Linked DNA regions of Homo sapiens: region 2 is linked to region 1. The links are contacts of gene promoters, found by promoter capture Hi-C in human tissues and cell types (Jung and others, 2019). All regions are on one chromosome and are shown on one strand. Each heading gives the region's core, a stretch centred on a gene start or on the middle of the fragment in contact. The rest is flanking DNA. Distances are from core to core; before and after follow the strand shown.

Region 1 (4,389 bases), core at 1,268-3,767:
CCAGATGCCGCTGCAGTTGCCCTGCTGCGGCTCTGGCCCAGCATCTCTGTGCTCTTGGGAACCTGTGAAGGCTCCACTGCCCCTCGCAGGCTCGGAAGTGCCTGCTCCTGCTGCCTGGCTTCTCCCTGCTGTTGGTGCCTGCTTCAATCTCGGAGCAAAGTCGGGCCGAGCTAGGGCGCCGTCACAGCCCAGCCGGGAGTGCACACGCTCAGGGCAGCACTGACACGCCAGCCCCCTGCCTCCTTGGCCCCCTCCGGACTTGGGTGCCAACAAGCATCGGAGAACGGCCGAGGGGGGCATGAGGACAGCCTGGTGTTGGCCTGCAGGTACCCCTTGGCATGAACAGCCTGGGCGCCATGAACAGCAGCAGGAATGCAGACAGCTCCTCGGTGGAAGGGGGCGGGTCCCTGGTGAAGCCCCACCTTCAATCCTGGAAGGGCCTGAAGCCTGGGGGCCAGGTCACCAGTCCCAGTACCAGAGCGGGGAACTTGTGGTGCTTTTCCCCAGGCCTGCTCATGGCCACCTATGGCCGCCCATGGACCAATCAGCACTCACTTCTTCCCCTCTGAGGTCCATAAAAAACCCTGGACTCAGCCAGACTCAAAGAGAGGACGGGTAGATGGGGAGAAAACCAGCTGCAGAGAGGAACTACCCTTTCTGCTGAGAGCTGGACACTTGTTGGGATGAACTGCCTACCAGAGAGGAGCTACCCTCTCTGCTGAAAGCTGAACACTTGTGGGGAAACCCTGGCTATGGAGAGGAGCTGCCCACTGCAGGTCTCTTCTGAAGTATTCTGTTGCTCAATAAAGCTCCTCTTCGTCTTGCTCACTCTCCACTTGTCTGCCTACCCCATTCTTCCTGGATGCAGGACAAGAACTCGGGACCTGCCAAATGGTGGGGCTAAAAGAGCTGTAACACAGGCTGGGTGCAGTGGCTCACGCCTTTAATCCCAGCACTTTGGGAGGCCGAGGGGGGTGGGGCGGATCACCTGAGGTCAGGAGTTTGAGGCCAGCCTGGCCAACATGGTGAAACCCTGTCTCTACTAAAAATACAAAAATCGGCCGGGTGCGGTGGCTCACACCTGTAACCCCGGCACTTTGGGAGGCCGAGGCGGGCAGATCACAAGGTCAGGAGTTGGAGATCAGCCTGGCTAACATAGTGAAACCCTGTCTCTACTAAAAATGCAAAAAAGCTGGGTGTGGTGGTGGGCGCCTGTAATCCCAGCCACTTGGGAGGCTGAGGCAGGGGAATCGCTTGAACCTGGGAGGTGGAGGTTGCAGTGAGCCGAGATCCTGCCACTGCACTCCAGCCTGGGCAACAAGAGCAAGACTCCCTATCAAGAAAAAAAAAAAAAAAAGGGAGAGAATGTGGTACATATATACCATAGAATACTTCACAGTCATAAAAAAAGAATAAGATCATGTCTTTTGCAGCCATATGGATGGAGCTGGAGACAATTATCCTAAGCAAACACAGGAACAGAAAATTAAATACCTCATGCTCTCACTTAAAAGCGGGAACTAAACATTAAGTAAACATGGACGTAATGATGGGGACAACAGACACGGTGACCTACTTGAGGGTGGAGAGTGGGAGGAGGGTGAGGATGGAAAAACTACCTATCAGGAACTACGCTTATTACCTGGGTAATAATAATCTGTACACTAAACCCCCAAGACAGTCAATTTATATAACAAATCTGCACATGTATCCCTGTACTTAAAAGTTGAAAAGAGGCCGGGCGCGGTGGCTCACGCCTGTAATCCCAGCACTTTGGGAGGCTGAGGTGGGAGGATCGTTTGAGCCCAACATAGGAAGACTCCTGTCTCAAAAAAAAAAAAAAAAAAAAAAAAATTACCAGGGTGTGGTGGCAGGCCCCTGTGGTCCCAGCTACTCAGGAGGCAGAAGCAGGACGATCCCTTGGGCCCAGAAACTCAAGGCTGCAGGGAACCGAGATCATGCCACTGCTTCCACCCTGGGTAACAGAGCAAGACCCCGTCTCCAAAAAAAAAAAAAAAAAAAAGCAATACAGGGGTACTTAATATTTATTCATATATTTACCTGAGAATCATCAGTTTTACTAAGGCTGTATGATGTTAGCAGATATTGGTTCTATCAGTCTCTCCGCAGACATTTGCTGTAAATAAAGCAGAGAGGCTTTCAGAGTGCACCCTGTTTTTGTTCCTCCATCCTGTTGTCTGGATCCCCTTCTAAAACGTAAGTTCCAGGATGGCAGGAACTTTGTCTATTTGGTTCACACTCGACACAGTTAGTGCTCAAAAATGTCTAACGACACAGGCCTGCTTCTCGGTTTGCACTGCTCCTCCATGGTAGTCTGTGCAGTGGGAGAAGGCAGCCCGGGCCCAGGGTCCACGGAGAAGACGCAAATCGACAGCGCGGGAGCGCGGACCTTCTGGAGGCGCGCGGCGCTTACCGCTGTCCGTCCTCGAAGCCCCGCCCCGGGGCTCCGCCTCCGCCGGCGCGTGTTCCTTTAGGGACCGCGCGCGCCGCGGCCTCGCTCTGGGGCCGGTACTTGCGCGCCCGCACCCCGCGCTCCCCGCCCCGCTCCCCGTCCCGCGCTCCACGCGCGCCCCAGCGTTGGGGGCTTCTCCTCCGCGGCGGGAATGTCTGGCCGGCTCCGGCAGCACGGCGCGGCCCAGGTCCCCGCGCCCACGACGGGCCAGCGCGCTGGGCCATGATCCGGCTGGGCGGCTGGTGTGCGCGGCGGCTCTGCAGCGCGGCGGTTCCCGCGGGGCGGCGCGGGGCGGCGGGCGGGCTGGGCCTGGCGGGAGGCCGCGCCCTACGGGTGCTGGTGGACATGGACGGCGTGCTGGCTGACTTCGAGGGCGGATTCCTCAGGAAGTTCCGCGCGCGCTTTCCCGACCAGCCCTTCATCGCGCTGGAGGACCGGCGCGGCTTCTGGGTGTCGGAGCAGTACGGCCGCCTGCGGCCAGGGCTGAGCGTGAGCGTCCCCGCCCCGCCCCGCGCCGGGCCTCCTTCTCGCCCCGAGCCCCAGACACCGCCCCTGCGCCGGTGACCTTGGACGGTCAGCGCCCCAGCCTCGGGGTGGCCCTCTGATAGAATAGGGTCTGGGGGGGACTAGGGGCCACAGCGCACCGGGAAGATGCGGCCCCGCGCTCAGGATCTGTTGGCTGCCATCCAAGGTTTCTGAAAATGCGGGAGAGTACAAAGTGTTAATATACCTAACTCTGCATTTAAAGCTGACTTCAAAATTTGTGGCATATTTGGCCTCAAGTCGTTTGTTAAATTTTTAGAAAAATAAACGTTATAAGTTGTCCTCTTTCACCCCGACCGCAGTCACATTCCCACTTCTTTGTCCCCAGGACTTTGATGGGTGTCTTTACCCATCTTTTTTACTGTTGTCCATGAAAGCATAGCTTCCAGGGGTATTTGAGGCCCAGAGAGGTTGTGTGACTTTCTGGGGGTCACACAGTGAGTCAGTGGTCCAGGTGAGGTGGGATCCACCTCATGTCTTATCCCCTTGCAGAGCTGGCCTTGCTGAACACCTGAGCTCAACCCCTACCATCCGACTCCCGAGGTGTTCTGTCCAGGATGGATAGAGGGGAAAGATCCAAGGAGGGACGTTTACACACAGATCTTGGTTGGTAAATTTGAAGTATTTTGCAAAAGGAACAGGGGATTTTGGTATGCACAAAATTAAAGAGGCTGAGTGTTTTTTGGCATCCCTTGATTGGCCACCTAGGGTTGCTGCTGGAGGGTTTGATAAAGAGGAGAAGGAAGTTACAAGAGCCCGTTTTTTAGCCACAAGTTCACTGCATCCTCTCTTTTGTTGGGTAGATATTATTATCTCTGTTTTCCAGATGAGGAAACTTGCCCCAAGTCACATGCTGCTCAGGGGCTCAGTCAGGACTCAAACCCAAGTCTGTCTGCCTCCCAAGCACAGTTAGTGCTCCCCACTCCACAGTCCTGTTCTCTGTACTACTGTCTCTAACAAGTGACATTTCTTCTGACATCAGAAAGATGCCTCATCAGTAATGTGGTTTGTTGAGGGACAGGTGTTAAAAAAGGAAACCAAGTACCGTTTGTCTCCATCAACACCAGGCACTTCAGAAGGTGACTTTCACAGAGCCCAGTGTGCTGAGCTCTTCTACAGCGGATGCCTAATGATAAACTTTAAACTGGAGAAAATGCCCTGGTACTTTCTGCAGCCTCAGGAATAGGCTCCAGTGTGTGGCGAGTGTTCATTTATAGGCAGCGCTCGGCATGGGGAGTCTGGACACCATATATCCGCCCGGGAGTGTATTAACGTGGAAACCAAGCCCACCCCCAACTCCGAAAAGTGCAGCAGCTTTTCCAGTTCTTTGTGCAAATATGTAGGCTCTGTACGTGTGGGGTTACTGGTTTCCA
Region 2 (4,353 bases), core at 939-3,438, 320 kb after region 1:
CTGGCTAACTTTTGTATTTTTAGTAGAGACGGGGTTTCACCATGTTGGCCAGGTTGGTCTCGAACTCTTGGCCTTAAGTGATCCGCCTGCCTCGGTCCCCCAAAGTGTTGGGATTACAAGCGTGAGCCACCATGCCTGGCCACTTTTTTTTTTTTTTTTGAGACAGGGTTTTGCTCTGTCACCCAGGCTGGTGTGCAGTGCCACAATCAAGGCTGACTGCAGCCTTAACCTCCTGGGCTCAAGAGATGCCTCCTGGTGGAGCTGGGACCACAGGTGTAGGACACCATGCCCAGCTAATTTTTTTTGTATTTTTGATAGAGTAGGGCTTTGCCATGTTGCCCAGGCTAGTCTCGAGCTCCTGTGCCCAAGCAATCCACCCGCCTCAGCTTCCCAAAGTGCTGGGATTACAGGCATGAGCCACTGTGCCTGGCCTGGACATTTCATGCAAATGAAATCATCCAATCTGTGGCCTTTTGTGTCTGGCTTATTTTGATTTAATTTATTCCCTTTTTATTTATTTATTTATTTATTTGAGACAGAGTCTTACTCTGTCGCCCAGGCTGAAGTGCAATGGCACTATCTTGGCTCACTGCAACCTCTGCCTCCTGGGTTCAAGTGATTCTCCTGCCTCAGCCTCCCGAGTAGCAGGGATTACAGGTGTGTGCCATGACACCCAGCTAATTTTTGTATTTTTAGTAGAGACGGGGTTTCACTTTCGAACTCCTGACCTCAGGTGATTCACCCTCATCGGCTTCCCAAAGTGCTGGGATTACAGGCATGAGCCACAGCGCCCAGCCTTTTTTTTTTTTTTTTTTTTTTGAGACACAGTCTCACTCTGTCGCCCAGGCTGGAGTGCAGTGGTGAGATCTTGCTCACTGCAACCTCCGCCTCTCACGTTCAAGTGATCCTCCTGCCTCAACCTCTGGAGTAGCTGGGATTATAGACACTTGACACCACACCCGGCTAATTTTTGTATTTTTAGTAGAGACAGGGTTTCACCATGTTGAGCAGGCTGGTCTCAAATTCCTGACCTCAGGCCATCTGGCCGCCTGGGCCTCCCAAAGTGTTGGGATTACAGGCATGAGCCACTGTGCTTGGCCTGATTTAATTTCTTAAAGCCTCTCGTAGAGAAGGGCCCGTAGTTGGGCATGGTTAAGGCACCATTAGGTGGGACGTGCTGGGGGGCTAGGCCGTAGGAGCGGGATGGTGAGAAGAGGCGATCTGGAGGGATCATGGAGGCATCGCCCCCAGGATTTGCAGCGACTGGGCCAGGGGGGGATGAGGGATTGCAAGGAGTGGGGAGGACTCGGGTTTCAGGCCTGAGCAAGTGGGACAATGGGGGTGCCAATGTGAGGTGGTGGAGACTGTGAGCGGGGCAGCGCCATGGCAGGGGATCAGTCAAAAGTCCACTCAAGAATTGAGAGTACGGGGGAGGTGCTGCTGCACAAACTTTTAGCACAAGCCAAGCCTGCACCCACTGGAATGTGAGCATCGGAGTGGGTGGTGGGGCAAGTGACAGGCACAGTGCTCATCAAGGATGGTGGGCCATGGGTCATACACCTCCAGGTTCTTTTGGTGGGAACAACAGGTCAATTTCTTCTGCTCAGTAGGATGTATATCAGCAAGAAGATGAGCACACCAGCTCACTCAAAACTTTAAGGAACCAGGCCGGATGCGGTGGCTCACGCCGCCTATAATCCCAGCACTTTGGGAGGCCGAGGTCGGGGGGATCACCTGAGGTCAGGAGTTCGAGACCAGCCTGGCCAACATGATGAAACCCCCATCTCTACTAAAAATACAAAAATTAGCCAGGTGTGGTGGCATGCGCCTATAGTCCCAGCTACTTGGGAAGCTGAATGAATCACTTGAACCTGGAGGCAGAGGTTGCAGTGAGCCGAGATCATGCCACGGCACTCCAGCCTGGGTGGCAGAGCAAGACTCCATCTCCAAAAAAAAAAAAAAAAAAGACAAAACAAAAAACTTTAAGGAACCCATTCACCTGCCTAATTAGTGGAAATGTTTCTAGGGCCACAGGGCCAAAATGCACAGTTGCACAGGTTGGACACTGCACAACCCAAAAGGAGTATATTTATACAGACTTGGACATGACTGACATCTTCCCTGAAGTCAGGCAGTATACAATCTGTGCAGTGGTGCCTGGTGCCGGGCAGTCAGGGTCATCATGAAGTTGCTGTGTTTCTAAGTAAAGGAGCTCCCTTGAGAAGAGATAGGGAAGTTTGTGAGAAATATGTCAGCTTTCGTGGCCTCTGAAGGTCAAGTGAACTCTGGCATTTAAACACAGCGGCCAGAGTCACTACACATCCTGTGTTTTCTTTATGAGAAGAAAAGCTTGGCAAGGGAAATGTCAGCAACAAGGTACACGCAGCTGGTTCGCCGCAAGACGGCCACCCATGTCGTGCTGTCTTCACATATTCCAGGCACTGGGAGGTCTCTCCAGGATTAAGGCCACCACCCTCCCCTCACTGCCGCCTCCCCTGTCATGCACATGGGAAAGGCCTGGCTCCTCTTAGGCCAGGCAGACCACCCTACTTTATTTGGCCTTGGGGCCAGTGGACAGGCCTTCTAGGGCTGCCACCTTGGTCCCCAGGGGCAGTGCACTACACACCAGGCATCGGCAGTGGGCACGACTCCCTCTGGGATTGTGCAAACAGGACCTCTCTCCAGCAGCTCCACGGAGCAGGTCTCAAGAGCCCCGGACCTGGGTTTGAATCTCAGCGGTGCCACTGGCTGGCTGACTGTAGGACTTTGGGCAAGTCACTTTACCTCTCTCAGCCTCTGCTTTTTCCTCTGCTAAGTGGGAACTAGAAGGCTGACCTCTCAGGGCTGCTGGAAGGGACAGAGGGGCATGTATAGAGTCCCTGGCCCATCCTTAGGGAGATGAGGGGAGAAACTTACACCCACTCACATATTCACACACACACACACACACATACACACTCCAAACAAAGTTTCATTTTTTTTCTTTTTTTTTTTGAGATGGAGTTTCCACTCTTGTTGCCCAGGCTGGAGTGCAATGGCGCGATGATCTCAGCTCAGTGCAACCTCCACTTCCCGGGTTCAAGTGATTCTCCTGCCTCAGCCTCCCGAGTAGCTGGGATTACAGGCACTTGCCACAACATCCGGCTAATTTTTTGTATTTTTAGTAGACGGGGTTTCATCATGTTAGCCAGGCTGGTCTCAAACTCCTGACCTCAGGTGATCCACCTGCCTCAGCCTCCCAAAGTGCTGGGATTACAGGTGTGAGCCACTGCACTGGCCCTAATCAGGTTTCAAATCCTTCTCTAAATACCCATCCTAGGCCACCATGTCTCACTGATTCTTTTATTCCTTTTTTTTTTAAGAACAATATCTAAAATGCAAAAAAAAAAAAAGGATATAATAATAAACAGTCATATTTTCATCACCCAGAGAAGTCCAGCCGCCAAGCAGGTGGCCTTTGATGGTGGGAGGCAGTGCCACCCCTGCCCTGCCTCCCTCTTCACTCTGGCTTACCCCATGGTGCTTTTCTGGCGCAGATGAGGAAACAGGGATTTGAGGGCTGCAGGAGGCAGAGGAGCCATCCTCCCGGTTCTCTCAGACAGGACAGGAAGCCTGGAGCACCCAGCTTCACAGAGGCCCCAGCACTTCCGTAGGCCTCGCACCACCTCCCTCACCCGCCTTTGCCAAGCCACCCGCTGTGATGATTTGAAGGCCACTCCGGCAGGGCAGAGAGGCCCTGCAGGTGATCTTGCACTCTGCCTGCATTTCCACCGCCAGAGCCTCAGATCTTTTGTTCTCCCAAATCAATGGCAGCAATGCTGTGGGCTGCCTCAAGTTTCGCCTCTCATCCTGGGATCGGGCGGGGGCTGGGAGTCCTATTGGACAGGGATGCCCCATTCGGGGGATTGCCAGTCAGGGCTGGGGTACGGGTGAACCCTCAAGAGTGACACATCTACTGGGTATTTAGACATGGGAAACAACTTCCCATTTGGCTGCGAGGAGGCTTCGGGAGCTGGGAAGTTCCCCTGCAACTGCCTGTGCTCCCGGGAGGAAAGGCCCCACCCAAGCCAGATCGTGGTCCCCTCGCAGGTGTAACGCATTGAGCTGGGTGAGCTGGGCAGCCTTGGAGTTGAAAGGACCCCAGGAATCCAGTCCAGGTCCCCTGTGGTGCAAATGGGGAAACTGAGGTCCGGACAGGGAGAGGACCTCACCCAGCCGGTGGCTGCCAGGTAACGCATGTCTTTGGTTTTGTCCCTTTAACTCTGTGAGTCTGGGTCTCAGTCTCCTCATCTGTCAGTTATAAATGATAATCCCACTACAGTCCCAGGGCATTGCCGGAGAAGCTGGCGGCGG

What was found. Contacts are between HindIII fragments. The study calls those that stand out against the background at their distance.
Region 2: a fragment that was not itself captured here is called in contact with the fragment with the promoter of NT5M in region 1 in 2 of the 25 tissues and cell types used here (bladder and dorsolateral prefrontal cortex).

Annotation. Positions count from the first base shown.
Region 1 is chr17:17,300,856-17,305,244 of GRCh38, forward strand. It overlaps NT5M (5',3'-nucleotidase, mitochondrial), which reads left to right and starts at 2,518. Exons shown (of 5, transcript NM_020201.4): 1 at 2,518-2,962. The coding sequence starts at 2,696. RefSeq lists an enhancer at 1-474 and silencers at 2,448-2,617, 2,668-2,767, 2,898-3,087. The HindIII fragment of the contact is 23,347 bases long and covers 1-4,389 here.
Region 2 is chr17:17,622,599-17,626,951 of GRCh38, forward strand. No RefSeq gene overlaps it. Among named protein-coding and RNA genes, the nearest start is that of PEMT, 33 kb to the left of the region's middle. RefSeq lists enhancers at 1-108, 109-984, 3,121-4,026, 4,027-4,353. The HindIII fragment of the contact is 8,811 bases long and covers 1-4,353 here.